2 separate regions of the Homo sapiens genome follow, and region 2 is linked to region 1. Evidence: promoter capture Hi-C in human tissues and cell types (Jung and others, 2019). All regions are on one chromosome and are shown on one strand. The core of a region is centred on a gene start or on the middle of the fragment in contact, and the rest is flanking DNA. Distances in the headings are between cores, read along the strand shown. Region 1 holds the start of DLL4 (delta like canonical Notch ligand 4). Region 2 has its middle 43 kb from the start of INO80.

Evidence for each region. The method cuts DNA at HindIII sites, captures the fragments that hold promoters and counts their contacts. A contact is called where the count stands out against the background at its distance.
Region 2: a fragment that was not itself captured here is called in contact with the fragment with the promoter of DLL4 in region 1 in 1 of the 25 tissues and cell types used here (spleen).

Annotation. Positions count from the first base shown.
Region 1 is chr15:40,926,758-40,931,395 of GRCh38, forward strand. DLL4 (delta like canonical Notch ligand 4) reads left to right here and starts at 2,583. Exons shown (of 11, transcript NM_019074.4): 1 at 2,583-2,977; 2 at 3,090-3,359; 3 at 3,868-3,925. The coding sequence starts at 2,912. RefSeq lists silencers at 1,725-1,794, 2,388-2,477. The HindIII fragment of the contact is 17,329 bases long and covers 1-4,638 here.
Region 2 is chr15:41,157,083-41,161,720 of GRCh38, forward strand. No RefSeq gene overlaps it. Among named protein-coding and RNA genes, the nearest start is that of INO80, 43 kb to the left of the region's middle. The HindIII fragment of the contact is 8,306 bases long and covers 1-4,638 here.

The DNA of each region.
Region 1 (4,638 bases), core at 1,333-3,832:
CCCTTTCCATGCTGTTGTGGAGGGTCTGCGTCAGGGGCGGGGGCAGCCGACTTCGATGGGGGTCCAGCCCCACGGTGATCGGTGGCCTCCCATCCCAGGACCACGCGTGTAGCGTTCTTCCGCCCGCAAGTCCGAAAGTCCCGAGTGGGAGAAGAAGGAAGGCGCAGCCCCAGTTTTGGGCTGACAGAAACACTTGCGGCCTTCGCACTGGGCTCCCCACCCGCAGCATGACCCTCTCCTGCTCAGCAAATGTGGGCAAAGCTCGACCGCAGCGTGTGGGAGCGCTCGTAGGTACCCAGGGCCAAGGGTGGCAGTGTCCTAGCCCGGGAATGAGCTTCTGGGACAGCGCCTCCGCAAATAGGTGTTTCATGAATGTCTTTTGATGCTGAGAATTTAACCCTTTCCTCTTCTGGTCAGAGCCTTTCTAGATCTCTGGGATCTCCTGGGTGCTGCCTCTCTGAAGATAATAATCCCAACTTTTGTTTGGTCCTTGATAATTTGCAAAGTACATTTGGGCACATTAGTCTGGGCGTGTATGAGGGTAGAGAGTGTTCCAGATTTTCCAGTATTGGGAGAGATGCCTTGTGTGGGACTAGATGTCTCCCTTGAGGGTCAGGTAAGCAGGACCAGCGCCAGAAAAGGAGGATGTTTTTATTAACTCCTGGGCCAGGATTTGGAGTTGAGAGAGGACAGGGCTAGGTAGGGCTGGATGCCAGCTTGGAGGGGAGCAAGGGGCACCCGCTGGCATCTTAGAGAGGCAAGTCCAGGGATCCATAGGGTATAGGCGGAGAGAAGATCTGGGAGCCCACTTGCCAGGATCGCCGGGAGGCACGCCCCGGACTCCCCCTCCCTCGGGCCTGGGACTCCGCCTGCCCATAACCTACATTAACTCCCGAGCGCAGCCTGGGCCCATCTGCCGCCCCGCCCCACCTCGGTTCCCCACGCCAACCCGCTCGCGCCAGATGGTGGCTGGGAGGGGTGGCCGTGCGTGGGGGACCCCGGAGCCCGTCTCCTCACCTCGCCCCTCCCCCAACCCACGCTCCCAACCTCTTGTTTCTCATCCTTCCCCCCCCCACCACACCCGTCCCCCAGTCCTCCACCACCACCACCCAACTCAAAAAAAAAAATCAGACCATGCTCGGCATTGGCAGCTGTTGGGCTTCTCGCCGCTCCCCCACCCTTACCGCCTCCCCCGGGTTCGCGCCGCGTCCCGGCTCCCCCCCCGCGCTGATCTTACCGCCCGACTACAGCCATCACCTCGCGGGCGGGCTGACAGCTGAAGCCACAGGGCCCCCGCTGCCCTCGGCGTCGCAAAGAGAGAGCTCCCCGGCACCCCTGAGACTGGGAGAAGCCGGCCCTCCCCGGTCTGCGGTCTCCGGGGATCACGCCGGGTTCCGAGAAAGCAGCTGCGCTGCTGCCGCTTGGAGGAGTGGGGCCACCCAGGGGACCCTCTCGGGCGAGACTTGGGAAGCCGCCTGAAACTCAAACAGCTCCGCAAGCCTCCAGTTCCACCCCACATCCCGCCTTATGAGGCGAGGACCCGGGCCGACCCGGCCTCAGTCCCTCACCTTGATTCTCCAGTGGCCTGAGCCAACTCTGGCGTCAGGAGAGTTCCTCCTTGCCCCAGCTGAGCGACAGGGCGCGGCCGGGGGCTTGGGGCTGCTGGGGTGGGGGGAGGCAGTGGGCGCAGGAACTGAAGCTGGACTCAGGTGAGGGGACGCGCTGGAGGCGGGGCCAGAACCTCATTACCATACAGCTGAGGACGCGCCCCCCTCCTACCTCCGGGACCACGCCCCGCCCTCCCCCACCTCAGGGACCGCGCGTCTGGGTCTCTGGCACGCGCCAAGCCCTGGCAGGGGGCAGAAGGGAGAAGGCACGCGCTGGGCACGCCCCCCCTTAGCTAGAGAGGGAGACGCCCAACAGGTGCACAGAGAGGGCCCCGAGCCTTAGACCCTTAGCCCCTAGCCTTGCTCAGAGTGGCCACAGAGAGGTTAACGCTTCTGCTGGCTTCCCTGCTGCGCTGGGGACGCGTGGTGGGTGGGCACTCATAGGTTGGGGGCCGTTGAGACAAGGGCTCCAGAAGCTCCAGGAAGGAAAAGGAGATCGGATTTCCCTAGCGCTGGTTTTTGCATTCCGGGCTTAAGTTCTTTTTACCTGCTTTGGAACACTAGGTAACTAGCGCCTGCTGCGGATGCACAGCCTACAGGGACTGCCTAGTGTCTCCGCCCCCAAGACCATCCCCGAACCACCCACTCACCTCCTGCCCCATTACCGGGCAACCCCTCTATCCTCCGGCGGCCAGGGTCTCAGCCCTTAACCCCGCCATCACGGAGGACTGGTCACCTCGGCACGCGCAGAGCTGGGGGACCTAGAGGTTGGGAGCGGCACGGAGGGGCGGGGACCTGCGCCCGACTGGCTGACGGGGAGGGGGGAGCGGCGGGGGCGGAGGCCCCCTCCGGGCGGCGCTGGGACTGTAGCAGCTAGAGGCCGGGAGGGGAGGGGAGAATGACCATGAGTCTGAGTGACAGGCGGCGAGGAGAGGAGCCAATATATATAAGGAAGGCCCCCAGCGCGCAGGTTTCAGTAGCGGCGCTGCGCGCAGGCCGGGAACACGAGGCCAAGAGCCGCAGCCCCAGCCGCCTTGGTGCAGCGTACACCGGCACTAGCCCGCTTGCAGCCCCAGGATTAGACAGAAGACGCGTCCTCGGCGCGGTCGCCGCCCAGCCGTAGTCACCTGGATTACCTACAGCGGCAGCTGCAGCGGAGCCAGCGAGAAGGCCAAAGGGGAGCAGCGTCCCGAGAGGAGCGCCTCTTTTCAGGGACCCCGCCGGCTGGCGGACGCGCGGGAAAGCGGCGTCGCGAACAGAGCCAGATTGAGGGCCCGCGGGTGGAGAGAGCGACGCCCGAGGGGATGGCGGCAGCGTCCCGGAGCGCCTCTGGCTGGGCGCTACTGCTGCTGGTGGCACTTTGGCAGCAGGTAACACGTCCCGCGCCCTCTCCGTCCCCTCTGCCGCGCTCTGGGCCTCAGCCCCGGGCACCAGCTGAGCTGACCGGTCCCCTCCCTCCTTCCCTCGGTCCCTGTGCAATAGCGCGCGGCCGGCTCCGGCGTCTTCCAGCTGCAGCTGCAGGAGTTCATCAACGAGCGCGGCGTACTGGCCAGTGGGCGGCCTTGCGAGCCCGGCTGCCGGACTTTCTTCCGCGTCTGCCTTAAGCACTTCCAGGCGGTCGTCTCGCCCGGACCCTGCACCTTCGGGACCGTCTCCACGCCGGTATTGGGCACCAACTCCTTCGCTGTCCGGGACGACAGTAGCGGCGGGGGGCGCAACCCTCTCCAACTGCCCTTCAATTTCACCTGGCCGGTGAGCACAGCCTGGGCGCACTGGGAGGTCGCAGAAGCCGAGAGAGGAGGCGCCCTGGGACCAAAGCCCCCTCCCCAGATTTCCTTGTACACACACCCCCACCCCCAAAAAGCCCAGGATGCATTCTTTCCTGGCTCTTCCCGACTCTCTCCTGAGACTGATCCCAGAAAAGGCTCTCACCAGTCTCCGTCTTCCCAGTTTATGTCCTCCCGTCCCCAGCTCTTGGGACACGATTTTCATTACCTACCACTCTGGGGCGGTACCCTACCACCCCCTCCTCCAGTGGCTCTCCCTTACACTCTCCCGTCTCTCAACCCTCCCTCTACCGGGGGTTCTCCTCTCGCCTTCCCTGCTCAAGCGCTACACTGTGCACAGCCCCGTTATGTTGACCCGGGCGCAGTAACTGAATCCTGCAATTAGATTAATTAAACAGGCTGCCGCAAGGCACCCCCACCTCTCCCCGCTTGCTCATCTCGCCATCTCTCCGTCCCCCCACCCCCTTTCCCAGGGTACCTTCTCGCTCATCATCGAAGCTTGGCACGCGCCAGGAGACGACCTGCGGCCAGGTGAGTAGCTCGCTCCGCCACCACAGGGGGGCGACACGGCGCAGCGCCGAAAGAGTTAATCTGTTCTAGGCGGGGGAAGTGCGGGCTTGGGGGTGGGAGGCAGGACGCTTAGCTTGGCCTGGAGCTGCGCCCCGCGCTGGACGCTCGGATTCCGCTCGCTGCCTGGACTCAGAGCACAATTGCGTTTCCTGCGGGTTATTTTTGGCGTGGGAACGCGGGGAGTACGGCGGTGAGAAAGGCTGAAGCTGCCAGCGCCGCTGACGGGCCCCTTCCTGTATTTTACACCTTTCGCGAATTCCGCTCCTTTGGAAAGGGAATAATGGCTTTGGGATGTTGTTCTGACACAGAGGAAAAGGATATTTCAGCAGCACAACAATTCTCACTTTGAAAAGGAAAAAAGAAAACCATTACCCACCTCTGGAGGCAGAACCCCTGAATGGGCACCAAAGGACCCCCTGCTCCCAGGGTCCTCTCTAGCCTGGGGAGCTTTTCTTTCTTTTTCTCTTTTTTCCATTTTGACCTCTTTTCCTCTTTCCCCTCCCTATCTGCCTCCAAGACCCTGGGATATCTTAACATCCTTCTATTGTCCCCTTTTTGAATACTATCAGGCCCCCTGCACATGCACACACGTAGGGCAGCTACGTAGCGGGGCTTTGGGTCCCTCTGGCCTGTTCTTGCTGGCAGGCGGGGGTCATCTGGATAACTGGGCTGAT
Region 2 (4,638 bases), core at 1,445-3,944, 230 kb after region 1:
ATATAGAAAATAGGCCAGGCACGGTGGCACACACATGTAATCCCAGCACTTTGGGAGGCCAAGGAGGGCAGATTACTTGAGGCCAAGTTCGATATGATTCGGTTGTGGATTCGCTCATAGTTTGAATTTGCTAGGCAGAATAGTAAGGACAAAGTAAGTCCATGGGCAATTATGAGGATAATTGCACCAGTAAAACTTCAGGGGATTTGAATGAGGATAGGCACAATAAAAAGTGCCATATGGCTTACAGAGGAATGACTATAGTAGCAGAGGTTCAAGAAAAGCCTGGCCAACATGGTGAAACCCCATCTCTACTAAAAAAAAACAAAAATTAGATGGGCAAGGTGGTATGTGCCTGTAATCCCAGCTATGTGGGAGGCTGAGGCATGAGAATCACTTGAACCCAGGAGGTGGAGGTTGCAGTGAGCTGAGATCGCACCACCGCACTCCAGCCTGGGCGAAAGGGCAAGACTCTGTCTCAAAAAAGGAAAGAAAGACCAGGCGCGGTGGCTCACGCCTATAATTCCAGCACTTTGGAAAGCCGAGGCAGGCGGACCACAATGTCAGGAGTTCGAAACCAGCCTGACCAACATGGTGAAACCCCATTTCTACTAAAAATAAAAAAATTAGCTGGGCATGATGGCGCACACCTGTAGTCCCAGCTACTCAGGAGGCTGGGGCAGGAGAATCGCTTGAACCCGGGAGGCGGAGCTTGCAGTGAGCGGAGATCGCGCCATTGCACTCCAGCCTGGGTGACAGAGTGAGACTCCATCTCAAAAAAAAAAAAGAAAAGAAAAAATAAAAATAAGAACAAAGCAAAACAAAAAAGAACCTGGTTGAAGAGCATGTGGGAATTTCTTGTGCTGTCTTTGCAGCTCTTCTGTAAATCTAAAATTATTTCAAAATAAAAAATTACTGGCCAGGTGTAGTGGCTCACGCCTGTTATCCTAGCACTTTGGGAAGCCAAGGTGGGTTCTTGAGCTGAGGAGTTCAAGACCAGCCTGGGCAACCCCAGGCTAAAACTCCATCTCTAAAAAGACAAAAAAAAAAAAAAAAAAAGCCAGGAGCAGTGGCTCACGCTTGTAATCCCAGCACTTTGGGAGGCTGAGGCAGACGGATCACTTGATGTCAGGAGTTCAAGACCAGCCTGACTAACATGGTTGAACGGCATCTCTCCTAAAAATACAAAAATTAGCTGGGCATAATGGCATGTGCCTGTAATCCCAGCTACTCGGGAGGCTGAGGCAGGAGAATTGCTTGAACCCGGAAGGCGGAGGTTGTGGTGAGCAGAGATTGTGCCACTGTACTCCAGCCTGGGCGACAGAATGTGACTCCATCTCAAAAAATAAAAAATAAAATAAAATAAAGCTACAGTAGGCCGGGCGCGGTGGCTCATGCCTGTAATCTCAGCACTGTGGGAGGCCAAGGTCAGCAGATTACCTGAGGTCAGGAGTTTGAGACTAGCCTGGCCAACATGGTGAAACCCTATCTTTACTAAAAATATACAAATTAGCCAGGCATGGTGGCACAAGGCCTGTAATCCCAGCCATTCAGGAGGCTGAGGCAGGAGAATTGCTTGAACCTGAGAGGCAGAGGTTGCAATGAGCCGAGATCGCACAACTGCCCTCCAGCCTGGGTGACAGGGTGAGACTCTGTCTCAAAAATAAATAAATAAATAAAAATAAAATAAAATAGCTATAATAATTAAGACAGTGTGTTATCAGCATAAAATAAATAAATAACCAATAGTACAGAGCAGAGAACCCAGCAAAGACCCATCATGCATTGACACTGGATAATTTATGGTGGGAGCACTGCAGTTTTTCAATAAATGATGCCACACAATTAGGTGTCCATATACAGAAATATGTTAAATTTATCCCTACCTCACAGTTTATTAAAAAATCAATCCCAGGTAAATTAGAGATTTAAACATAAATGGCAAAACCAAAAAACATAACAAAGGAAATATCCTTAGAATGGTGGAGTAAGACAATAATTTTTCTGGCCGAGTGTGGTGGCTCCCGCCTGTAATCCCAGAACTTTGGGAGGCTGAGGCGGGTGGATCGCGTGAGGTCAGGCGTTCAAGGCCAGCCTGACCAATATGGTGAAACCCCGTCTCTACTAAAAATACAAAAATTAGCCAGGCGTGGTGGTATGCACCTGTAGTCCCAGCTACTCGGGAGGCTGAGGCAGGAGAATTGTTTGAACCCTGGAGGTGGAGGTTACAGTGAGCTGAGATCGCGCCACTGCACTCTAGCCTGTGCAACAGAGTGACACTCTGTCTCAAAAAAAAAAAAAAAGAAAAGAAAAGAAAAATAAAATAATTTTTCTTTCTGAGACAAGATCTTGGTCTGTTGCCCAGGCTGGAGGGCAGTGGCACAATCATGGCTCACAGCAGTCTCAAATTCCTGGGGTCAAGCGATCCTCTCACCTCAGTCTCCCAAAGTGCTAGGATTACAGGCATGAGCCATTGTGTCAGGCCAGAAAATAATTTTTGTTTTTTTTTTGAGACCGAGTCTTGCCCTGTTGCCCAAGCTGGAGTGCAGTGGTGCAATTATAGCTCATTGCAGCCTCCATCCCCCCAGCTCAAGCAGTCCTCCCACCTTAGCCTCCCTAGGAGGTGGGACTTCAGGTGGATGCCACCACATCAGGCTAATTTTTTTTATTAAAATTTAAAATTTTAATTTTAGGCTGGGCGCAGTGGCTCACGCCTGTAATCTCAGCACTTTGAAAGGCTGAGGCTCCATCTCAAAAAAAAATTATTTTATAATATTTAATTTTGTTTACAAAGTAATTGTATTTGCTATTCTGTTTATTTTCCTTATTATTAATTTATTTCTACTTAGACTGTATCCTCAAAAATGATTTTGACCCATACAAATTAAGTTATTTCTCTCTTCTGGCTGGGTGTGTTGCCTCGCGCCTGTAATCATAGTACTTTCAGAGGCCAAGATGGGTGGATCACCTGAGGTCAGGAGTTCAAGACTAGCCTGGCCAATATGGTGAAACCCTGTCTCTACTAAAAATACAAAAATTAGCTGGGCGTGGTAGCGCATGCCTGTAATCCCAGCTACTCAGGAGGCTGAGGCAGAAGAATCGCTTGAACCTGGGAGGCGGAGGTTGCAGTGAGCCGAGATTGCACCACTGCACTCCAGCCTGGGCAACAGAGCAAGACTCCATCTCAAAAAATAAGATAAAATAAAATAAAATAAAAAACAGTACGCCTAATGTTAGTGAGAATGTGGCATATTAGGAACTCTCATACACTGCTGTTGGGTATGTAAATCAGTAAACAGTTTGGCAGAAGGCAGCAAAGTTAAATATATACATATGTAACAAATCCACTCCTGGAGAAATTCATGCATGTTTACACCAGGATACATATATAAGAAACCTCGTAGCAACACTGTTTGCAATAACTAAACAAAGGGAACATCAATAGTGGTGGTAAGTGGTGGTAAAATGCACCCCCTTTCCTTTTTTTTTTCTTTGAGATGGAGTCTCACTGTGTCACTCAGACTGGAGTGCAGTGGTGCGAAATCAGCTCACTGCAACCTCTGCCTCCACGGTTCTAGTGATTCTCCTGCCTCAGCCCCCCGAGTACGTGGGATTACAGGCATGTGCCACCACGGCTGGCTAATTTTTGTATTTTTAGTGGAGACGGGTTTCCCCATGTTCGCCAGGCTGGTCTCGAACTCCTGACCTCGGGATCCACCCATCTCAGCCTCCCAAAGTGCTGGGATTCAAGCGTGAGCCACCCTGCCTGGCCGCGTAATGTTTTATTTCTTGAACTGGATGTTCACTTTGGATTTTTCCGTAAACAGTACATTTTCATTTAGTTAACTTCTAAGTATATTTCACAATAAAAAAGTTTTTAAAATTTCCTGGCATTCCTCTCTTGTTCCTCTAAGGCTTCCTTGAAAGTTTCCAGTTACCACTCTCACCTGGAAATCACTACAAATTAGTTTCGTAATTGAGATTTCACAAGATGCTAGATCAAAATGCTTTACCGATAGCCCAATTTTGAATATCTAACACTTCTCTTCTTCTCTCATTCCTGGAATTCTTAATCCAAAAATCCCCCAGAAAACCACTCATACCAATCTGACAAGGTCAACTATTTAAATTCATCACTGCTGTTGATTAGTCAGAATTCCTTCATCCTTTAGAGGCGTACACATTTTTTCTTTTTAAATATTTATTTCTTTATTTGATTTAATTTTGAGATTAGAATCGCACTGTGGTGATTTCCAGAAACATTTTCCGAAATTCATGTATTCTTTCCTCATTCTTCCTGAATTCCTATTATTTGTTCAGCACCTACAACAAAATCAGGGGGGCGGGGGACGTAGGAATATCACAATGACACATCGTTGATATTTACAAAAATAACAGCAAATGAAAGATTTAATCTATGTCATACAATGAGAAACACAACTGATGGATGATACTTTGATTTCCCTGTTGTTTTTAAACATTAGCAACGAGTCATACAATATTACTGGTATTTGCATTTCATCATCACTAGGCCTAATTTTTTCTAACCGAAGGGAGATTTTCAACATACAGTTAGCTTTTCATTCATCTGCCTGACCAAAATCTAATCCTCTGACATCTAAATCTTTCTTGGTTGTC